Regions from separate parts of the Homo sapiens genome. Here all the other regions are linked to region 2. Evidence: promoter capture Hi-C in 16 types of primary human blood cells and fetal thymus (Javierre and others, 2016). All regions are on one chromosome and are shown on one strand. Each heading gives the region's core, a stretch centred on a gene start or on the middle of the fragment in contact. The rest is flanking DNA. Distances are from core to core; before and after follow the strand shown. Region 1 overlaps TFCP2 (transcription factor CP2). Region 2 holds the start of CELA1 (chymotrypsin like elastase 1). Region 3 overlaps TFCP2 (transcription factor CP2).

Region 1 (2,753 bases), core at 122-2,621, 230 kb after region 2:
TGTGTGGCCTTGGACAAGTTGCTAAAACTCTTTTAAGTTTCAATTTCTTTGTCTGTAAAATGGGATTGATAATACCTTAGAAAAGTATATCAGTTAAATGAGATAATGTGACAATACTTAGCACAGTGCTGAGCATCTTGTAAAGGCTTCTGATTGTTGTTACTAATACTAATAATATTATTATACTGTTGTATATTCAACCAACTGAATTTTATTCTTTCCGAATCTAGCAAAGTTAATTTGTGGTGAATATAATATGTAATTACTTTTTCTTCTAGGACAGTCTTATGAAATTCGAATGCTAGACAATAGGAAACTTGGAGAACTTCCAGAAATTAATGGCAAATTGGTGAAGGTAAAACGAATAAATCATTCTTCTGTACAATATTTTTTACTAATCCTTTTGGGATTTTAAATTTTGTTGTTGTTGTTAATGTTCTTTTGCTTCCAATGGCTTAATGGTATCTCTTGCCTGCAGTAATTTGTTGGCAGAGTAGTAAGCTGATGTGTTATTTCTTTGGGGTCAGAGTAAGCCCCAGTATTCACATGAATTTTTCAGAGCTGCAGAAATAGAACGCTTACCACTCCCTGTCCAGGGTAATCACCCCTGGCTCAGTGAAGTTCTTTTGGGTGGAGTAAAGTAACCTCCTTGAGATCTTTAGAGAAGCCTCAGTGTCTTTTTTGATACTTAGTCTTATAGCAAGGAAAACAGAAGCTACTTTGATGAAGAGCAGTTCTCTTAGTCTAGATTAACAGTTAGGATTTTGATAATTCACAGCACAGTTGAAACAGAGGAGTTTTGTCAAAAGGTGGTGGGAGGAATTAATAGGCACTTCTACAAAGTAAGAGTAACAAAAGGAAAGTTGATGGAAACAGGCTCTACCTACCCTCAGTGTTTACAGGTTGTATGGTGGGTTAGCAAGCGGGGGAGTTGGTGAGTTTTTCATATACATCTGAAGAGCTAAGCCAGATAGGCCGTGGTATAACAGAAGAGGTGTGCAGAAACGCTTCAGACAGGAGTACTTTATTCCTAGTTACCATCGGACTGAAGTTTAAGCCAAGTTTTAAATATGGTACCAGTTAACTATAAAGATTCTATCTGAGAAATTGGCTGGACCCGGTGGCTCACGCCTATAGTCCCAGCACTTTGAGAGGCTGAGGCGGGCGGGTCGCCTGAGGTTGGGAGTTTGAGACCAGCCTGACCAACATGGAGAAACCCTGTCTCTACAAAAAATACAAAATTAGTCAGGCGTGGTAGCACATGCCTGTAATCCCAGCTACTCAGGAGGCTGAGGCAGGAGAATTCCTTGAACCCGGGAGGTGGAGGTTGCGGTGAGCCGAGATCACACCATTGCACTCCAACCTGGGCAACAAGAGCAAAATCTGTTTCAAAAAAAAAAAAAAAGATTATATCTGAGAAATTATAAAATTTTATCCTGAAATAGCACTTAGTATGGTATGGGTTTTAGAGTGAAACAGATCTTAAGAAAAATAATTTTAGATTGCGTTTAGAAACAAACTGGCAGTGAATCCTGCTAGTTTTTCTTTGTCAGCACTGATTTTCAAGAGGTCTTGTTATCATCTGATTTTGTTGTATCCTTTTAGAGTATATTCCGTGTGGTGTTCCATGACAGAAGGCTTCAGTACACTGAGCATCAGCAGCTAGAGGGCTGGAGGTGGAACCGACCTGGAGACAGAATTCTTGACATAGGTGAGTTAAGAGAATCTATTGCCTAGGAAATGCCTTTAGCTATGGACCCAGAGTTGGTTTTCTTTATTTGACATTTACCTTGATTCATATGCTTGAGAGGCTCAATTAGTATAAACCTTGAAATTATTTACTAAGCATAAAAAATTTTAAGTAATACAAGTTAAAATGATATCAAAATTGAAGTTGGAAGTGTAAACACTTTAGTTCCATAGCAACTATAGGTTGATTTTGTTGTTTTTTAAGTTGTGGTAAAATATACATTACATAAAAGTTATCATTTTAACCATTTTTAAGTGGATAGTTCAGTAACATTAGGTACATTCACATTATTGTGTAACCATCACTATCATCCATCTCCAGAACTTTTCTCATCTGCAAAACCAGAAGTCTGTACCTGTTAAACAACAACTCCCCATTCTCCCTTCTTCACAGCCCCTGGTAACCACTATTCTCCTTTCTGTCTCTATGAATTGGACTACTAAGTACTGCATAAATGAAATCATACAGTATTTGTCCTTTTGTGACTGGCATTTTTCACTTAGCATAATGTTTTCAAGGTTCATGGTATAGCATACATTAGCATTTCCTTCCCATGCAAGGCTGAATAATACTCCATTGTGTGTATATATCACACTTTGTTTATCCATTCATCCCATGATAGGCACTTAATTTGATTCCATTTCCTGGCTATTGTGAATAATGCTGCTATGAACATGGATGTACAAATATGTGTTTGAGTCTCTGCTTTTAATTCTTTTGGATACATATCCAGAAATGGAATTGCTGGGTCATATGGTAACTCTATCTTAGATTTTTTTTAGAAACCACTATATTGTTTTCCACAGTGACTACACATTTTACATTTCTACCAGCGGTACTCAAAGGTTCCAATTTCGGCCGGGCGCGATGGCTCACGCCTGTAATCCCAAAACTTTGGGAGGCCAAGGTGGGCAGAACATGAGGTCAGGAAATCGAGACCATCCTGGCTAACATGGTGAAACCCCGTCTCCACTCAAAATACAAAGAAATTAGCTGGGCGTGG
Region 2 (2,701 bases), core at 181-2,680:
ATTTTGTGGCCAACCCAAGGGTCCTCTGCCCACCTCAAGGCACATTGCAACTCTTTTCTCTCTCTATTTATTTATTTATTTATTTATTTATTTATTTATTTATTTATTTATTTTGAGACAGAGTCTTGCTCTGTCTCCAGGCTGGAGTGCAGCAACCTCCGCTTCCCAGGTTGAAGCGATTCTCCTGCCTCAGCCTCCAGATTAGCTGGGACTGCAGAAGCGCACCACCATGCCCAGCTAATTTTTGTATTTTGTTTTTGTTTTTTTTTAGATGGAGTCTCGCTCTGTCGCCCAGGTTGGAGTGCAGTGGCGCGATCTCGGCTCACTGCAAGCTCCGCCTCCCGGGCTCACGCCATTCTCCTGCCTGCGCCTCCCGAGGAGCTGGGACTACAGGCGCCTGCCACCACGCCCAGCTAATTTTTTGTATTTTTTTAGTAGAGACGGGGTTTCACTGTGTTAGCCAGAGTAGTCTCAATCTCCTGACCTCGTGATCCGCCCGCCTCCGACTCCCAAAGTGCTGGGATTACAGGCATGAGCCACCGCGCCCGGCCAATTTTTGTATTTTTAGTAGACGGGGTTTCGCCATGTTGGCCAGGATGGTCTCGATCTCTTGATCTTGTGATCCGCCCGCCTCAGCCTCCCAAAGTGCTGGGATTACAGGCGTAAACCACCGCGCCCGGCCGCAACTCCCTTCTCTCTCCTCTACGAACTGTGATGAACAAAGCCTTTCATCTCCTGCAGGAACCTCGGCTCCTACCCTCGTTCTCCCTCTGCCCTCCACCCTCCATCTACCCTCATAGCCCTCAGACTGTCTTCACATCCCAAGGATCCCCTCCTCTACCCTGCCTCATATTCTCCTCTGGGAGCCCCTTCTTGGCTCTCCATCTGAGAGGGCCCAAGCCTGTTTCTCAGTACTTTCCTCCCCCAGAATTATCTCCACTGCATCTATTTGGCTTTTGTGTCTGCATTTACACCTATGCCTGCATCCTGGGGGCATGTGCCATCTCCCTCTTTGGGCAGAGAGAGTTGCTGTGTCTTCCTTGCCCTTGCTAACCACTCCCCCCTCTTCCACTATCCCCCTGGCCTCCAGCTGCTAGTGCACAGGGCAAGTCTCTGCATTTATGGTGCCACTGAGGACAACGAGAGAGTGATGGATGACAAGGGGTGCTCCCTTAGAGAAAAACCAGCCCTGGTTCTCCATCTTATTTCTGAAAAAGAGTTTGTTGGATGCTTTTCAATTAAAAGCAGATGATTAATTCAGCCCTGGCCTTGTTCTGTCTTTGAATAACAGATACATTAGTTTACTTGAAAAGAAATATTTTCATTTGTATTTCCATGTCACTTGTGATTTTCCCTGCCTTGCACCCTCAGCCCTGCCAGTTGGCAAGAAGACAGTCAGCTTTGCTGCTAAGAGGAGTATAAAGAGGGCTTGGTCCAAGCAAGAAGGCAGTGGTCTACTCCATCGGCAACATGCTGGTCCTTTATGGTAAGTGGATATGGTCCAGTCGCAACCCTGGTCCTTTATGGTAAGTGGATCATGTGGCCTGAGGTCTATAGGGAGGGGGACTTGGGCAGGAAGGTCAGCAAATTTTCCCTAAGTCCAGGCCAGCACCCTGTCCCAGGGCAGGTGGGACGCTCTGCCTGCAGAGCGTCCTTTACTCTCCTGGAGGCCAAGATAGAAAAGGTCAGGGCCACTGGCTATTCAGGCCCCTCTGGGTGGCAGGTCCCTGGGCCACAAAGCAGAGAGAAGCCCCATCTGGTAGTGGGGTGGGTCCCTGGGCTTCCCCACCACCCCCATTGACAGGAGGACTTCCTCAGCAGGTGCCTGGCTGGGGTGTGCACTGCAGGCCCTGAACCCTGGAGAATCTTGCCAAAGCATTAGGGGGCTGGTGGGGGTCAAAGAGTGGGGGGGGGTCTCTTCAGGCCAAAGGGTGATCTTGAGCAAAGAGGAGACCACAAGGAGCCTCTGGGGCCTAGCCTGGTGGTTTGAGAGAGGTCCTTCATAGCATGCCGGAGTTCTGGGAACACCTGGGGGAAACAGAAGGCACCCAGGCACCCCTGTTTTCAAAAGGGGCTCAGAGAACTCACAGCTGGGCCCCTCATTCGTTAGAGAGGAACTGTGAATTTGCAGACAAGGCTAACATTCCTCAAAGCACAATCGCCACCCCCCACCCCTACCCCTGGCTGACCCCATGCTTAGTCATCACTCACTTTTCTTCTGCCCCACAAAGGACACAGCACCCAGGACCTTCCGGAAACCAATGCCCGCGTAGTCGGAGGGACTGAGGCCGGGAGGAATTCCTGGCCCTCTCAGGTGGGTGTTCCTTCCCAGCCCCAGACTTCCACCCAAATAAGAGCTCAGTGCATGACATAAGGTATCATGTGTATTTGTGCATGTCCCTATCAACAAGCAGCTCTCCAATTGTCTAGGTTCTCGATTTTAAAGATGGATGGGATCAGGCTTAGGTGGTTTTCTAAATGCAAAAGGCTTGGAGGAGGGGATTTATACACCAACCACAGTCCCTCTTCAAGGCACACACCCAAACACAAGATACATTTATATTCTCAGCGACAGCACTTGTGCCACGCAAGAAAGACTGGGTGCCAGACAGTCACCTTGGACTCCACATACCTTGAAACTCACACGCACACCACTCCACACTGTGTGTGTCACAATGCTTGCACGCATGTGCGCGCACAC
Region 3 (2,786 bases), core at 47-2,546, 210 kb after region 2:
AGGAGGAGACAATTCCTCCTACCTCACAGCATTATTGTATGAATTAAATGGAAATTTATGTGCAAAAAATGAATCATAGCAATTGAGTTGAGGTAGAAGAGAGCAGGTGGACCCCAAGGCCTGGGGGCAAGGGAAAGAACTGCAGTTTGTCTGCTGAATCTTTTAAAAAAGTCAAAGAGGCCAGGTGCAGTGTCTCCTGTCTGTCATGTCAGCACTTTAGGAGGCTGAGGCAGGAGGATCCTGAGAGGCCAGGAGTTCAGCACCAGTCTGGGCAACATAGTGAGGCCCTGTCTGTACAAAAAATTAAAAGATGAGCCAGGTGTGGTGGTGTGTGCCTATAGTCCTAGCTACTTGGGAGGCTGAGGCTGAGGTGGGTGGATTGATTGGGCCCAGGAGTTTGAGACTTGCAGTGAGCTATGATCACGCCACTGCTCTCCAGCCTGGGCAACAGAGCAAGACGCCGTCTCACTATACATATGTAGATAAAGGGAAAAGAGAGATGGGAAGTATGGTGAGAGATGAGACTGAAAAGGTAAACTGGGCCCAGTTTTGAAGAGTTTTGGGAGCCATGTTGAAGAGTTAGCACTTTATCATGATTGCGTTGGGAAACCACTGAAGCTTTATAAACAGAGAAGGGACATTTCTAGATTTACCTTTTTAAAAAGTTACTCTGGCTGCAGGTTAGAGGATAATGATAAAAAGCTAGTTATCATGCCTGAGGAGGGTTGAGGCTTAGTAAACTGGGTGTCTTCTGCTCTGCATATCCTTAGAAATACAAATTTACTCTCTGTCTATAAAAGACAAGGGGCAAATAACATTTCTGCTTTGATTGCATCATCAGGTCTAACTGGTTACATCTCTAGGGAATTTGCTGGCCATTTTAGAAGAAAAGGCCTTCCTTCATCAGAAATGTGGTCTGGCCGGGCATGGTGGCTCACACCTGTAATCCCAGCACTTTGGGAGGCCGAGGCTGGTGGATCACCTGAGGTTGGGAGTTCGAGAACAGCCTGACCAACATGGAGAAACCCCGTCTCTAGTGAAAATAGAAAGTTAGCCAGGTGTGGTGGCGCACACCTGTGATCCCAGCTACTCAGGAGGCTGAGGCAGGAGAATCGCTTGGACCCGGGAGGCGGATGTTGTGGTGAGCCAAGATCATGCCATTGCACTCCAGCCTCTCACCATTGCACTCCAGCCTGGGCAACAGAGCGAAACTTGGTCTCAAAAGAAAAAAGAAATGTGGTCTGAAGGAGGAGAAATGTTCGTAAGTCCTATCACTTTTAGCATAAAAGAGGAGAGATGGTTAGAGCCTATTTACCATTTCATAGGACTAACTATTCTGGTACTTTCAGGATTTTCCTGAAAGTCATCGGCAATTAAAGCCTTAAAACACAGAAAACTAGGCCAGGCACAGTGGTTCACACCTGTAATCCCAACAATTTGGGAGGCCGAGGCGGTTGGATCACTTAAGGCCAGGAGTTTGAGACCAGCTTGGCCAATGTGGTGAAACCCCATTTCTACTAAAAATACAAAAATTAGCCAGGCATGGTTTACATGGGATTATAGGAGTGCGCCTGTAATCCCAGCTACTCGACAGGCCGAGGCGGGAGAATCACTTGAACGTGGAAGTCGTAGGTTGTAGTGAGCCGAGATAGTGCCATTGCACTACAGCCTGGGCGACAGAGTGCTACTCCATCTCAAAAAACAAACAAACAAAACACACACAGAGAAAAATAGAAAATAAATAAATACACAGAAAAGTGTCTGTGCTTGCCTTTCATTAAGGGGAGGAATGAGGGACTAGAGAGATTGTCCTACTTTGAAGCCAGGCATGGTAGGGAGTACAGGATGAGCAAGACATAAGAACTCTCAAGTATAGAGAGGTAATAGTGATGCTTGCCAGTGAAGATGGAAGCCTGACTGCAAGAGGGAAGAAAGCATGAGCTGGTAGACATTTTGGATCGGAAAAGAAGCTTTGAGGCTCAGCACTATAAAGGGCTAAGTGTGGATTCCCTTAGTCCCAAGAAAACAAAACAAAACAAAACTGTTGGTGTTTTCCCAGTTATGCCATACTATGATGATATACATTTGATCTTTGAATACTGAAATGGGAGTTCTATTTTCTGTATCAAAATAGTCAGATTCCCTTCAACATATAGCCTATGAATATTGCTGCGAGTTGCCATTTTTTGCCTAACTGGAAAGAGTCAGTGATTTCAGAAATTTAATAAAAGAGCCTAGTACTAATGATGCCACAGGTGATGTTTTCAATTAGCAGTGTTTTAATGAGATCTGTAGGCTGGTAAATGCTAATCCTATAATGTATGAAAAAAACTAAGAAGGTAGGCCTATATCTAGTAAATCTCCTGAGGTAGGGCTTTGCTGATTCAGATTTCTTTGATTAAACTTTTAATATCTTACAAGCTCCCTGGAAGTAAATTTGTATCTGACACAGATACTTTTCAGCTTCCAAAATAAATAAGGTTAGCAAAAATTAGATGTGTTTAGTGACTTTATAAGCTAAAGGAAAATAAAAGCACATTTCTGGTAGGTATAAATAATTGGTAGTTGGCAAATAATTCAGCAGAGTGGAAATGTGAGAGACTGAAAGACTTGAGGCAAAAAAAGGGAAATCAGCTCCATTTTTTGGTAAACTTTGAGATGTACATAATGAAATGTACATCTGGTATCTCGCAAGTGATCTAAACTGATCTCATAATCGTGCTGAAGAAATAGATTTGTAGTCCAGAAGCACTTCTTAAAGTGCTTAAAGAACATTAAGCCCAGTT

The links. Contacts are between HindIII fragments. The CHiCAGO score rates a contact against its expected background, and 5 or more counts as called.
Region 1: a contact is called between a fragment that was not itself captured here and the fragment with the promoter of CELA1 in region 2, in 4 of 17 cell types (M1 macrophages, naive CD4 T cells, activated CD4 T cells and 1 more). The highest score is 6.0, in M1 macrophages.
Region 3: a contact is called between a fragment that was not itself captured here and the fragment with the promoter of CELA1 in region 2, in 2 of 17 cell types (M1 macrophages and M2 macrophages). The highest score is 6.4, in M1 macrophages.

The regions. Positions count from the first base shown.
Region 1 is chr12:51,115,273-51,118,025 of GRCh38, reverse strand. TFCP2 (transcription factor CP2) reads left to right here. Exons shown (of 15, transcript NM_005653.5): 3 at 279-355; 4 at 1,606-1,711. Among named protein-coding and RNA genes, the nearest start is that of CSRNP2, 33 kb to the right of the region's middle. The HindIII fragment of the contact is 5,289 bases long and covers 1-2,753 here.
Region 2 is chr12:51,345,408-51,348,108 of GRCh38, reverse strand. It overlaps CELA1 (chymotrypsin like elastase 1), which reads left to right and starts at 1,430. Exons shown (of 8, transcript NM_001971.6): 1 at 1,430-1,486; 2 at 2,232-2,314. The coding sequence starts at 1,471. The HindIII fragment of the contact is 4,543 bases long and covers 1-2,701 here.
Region 3 is chr12:51,137,070-51,139,855 of GRCh38, reverse strand. The region is part of intron 1 of TFCP2 (transcription factor CP2); the gene reads left to right. Among named protein-coding and RNA genes, the nearest start is that of TFCP2, 35 kb to the left of the region's middle. The HindIII fragment of the contact is 1,352 bases long and covers 621-1,972 here.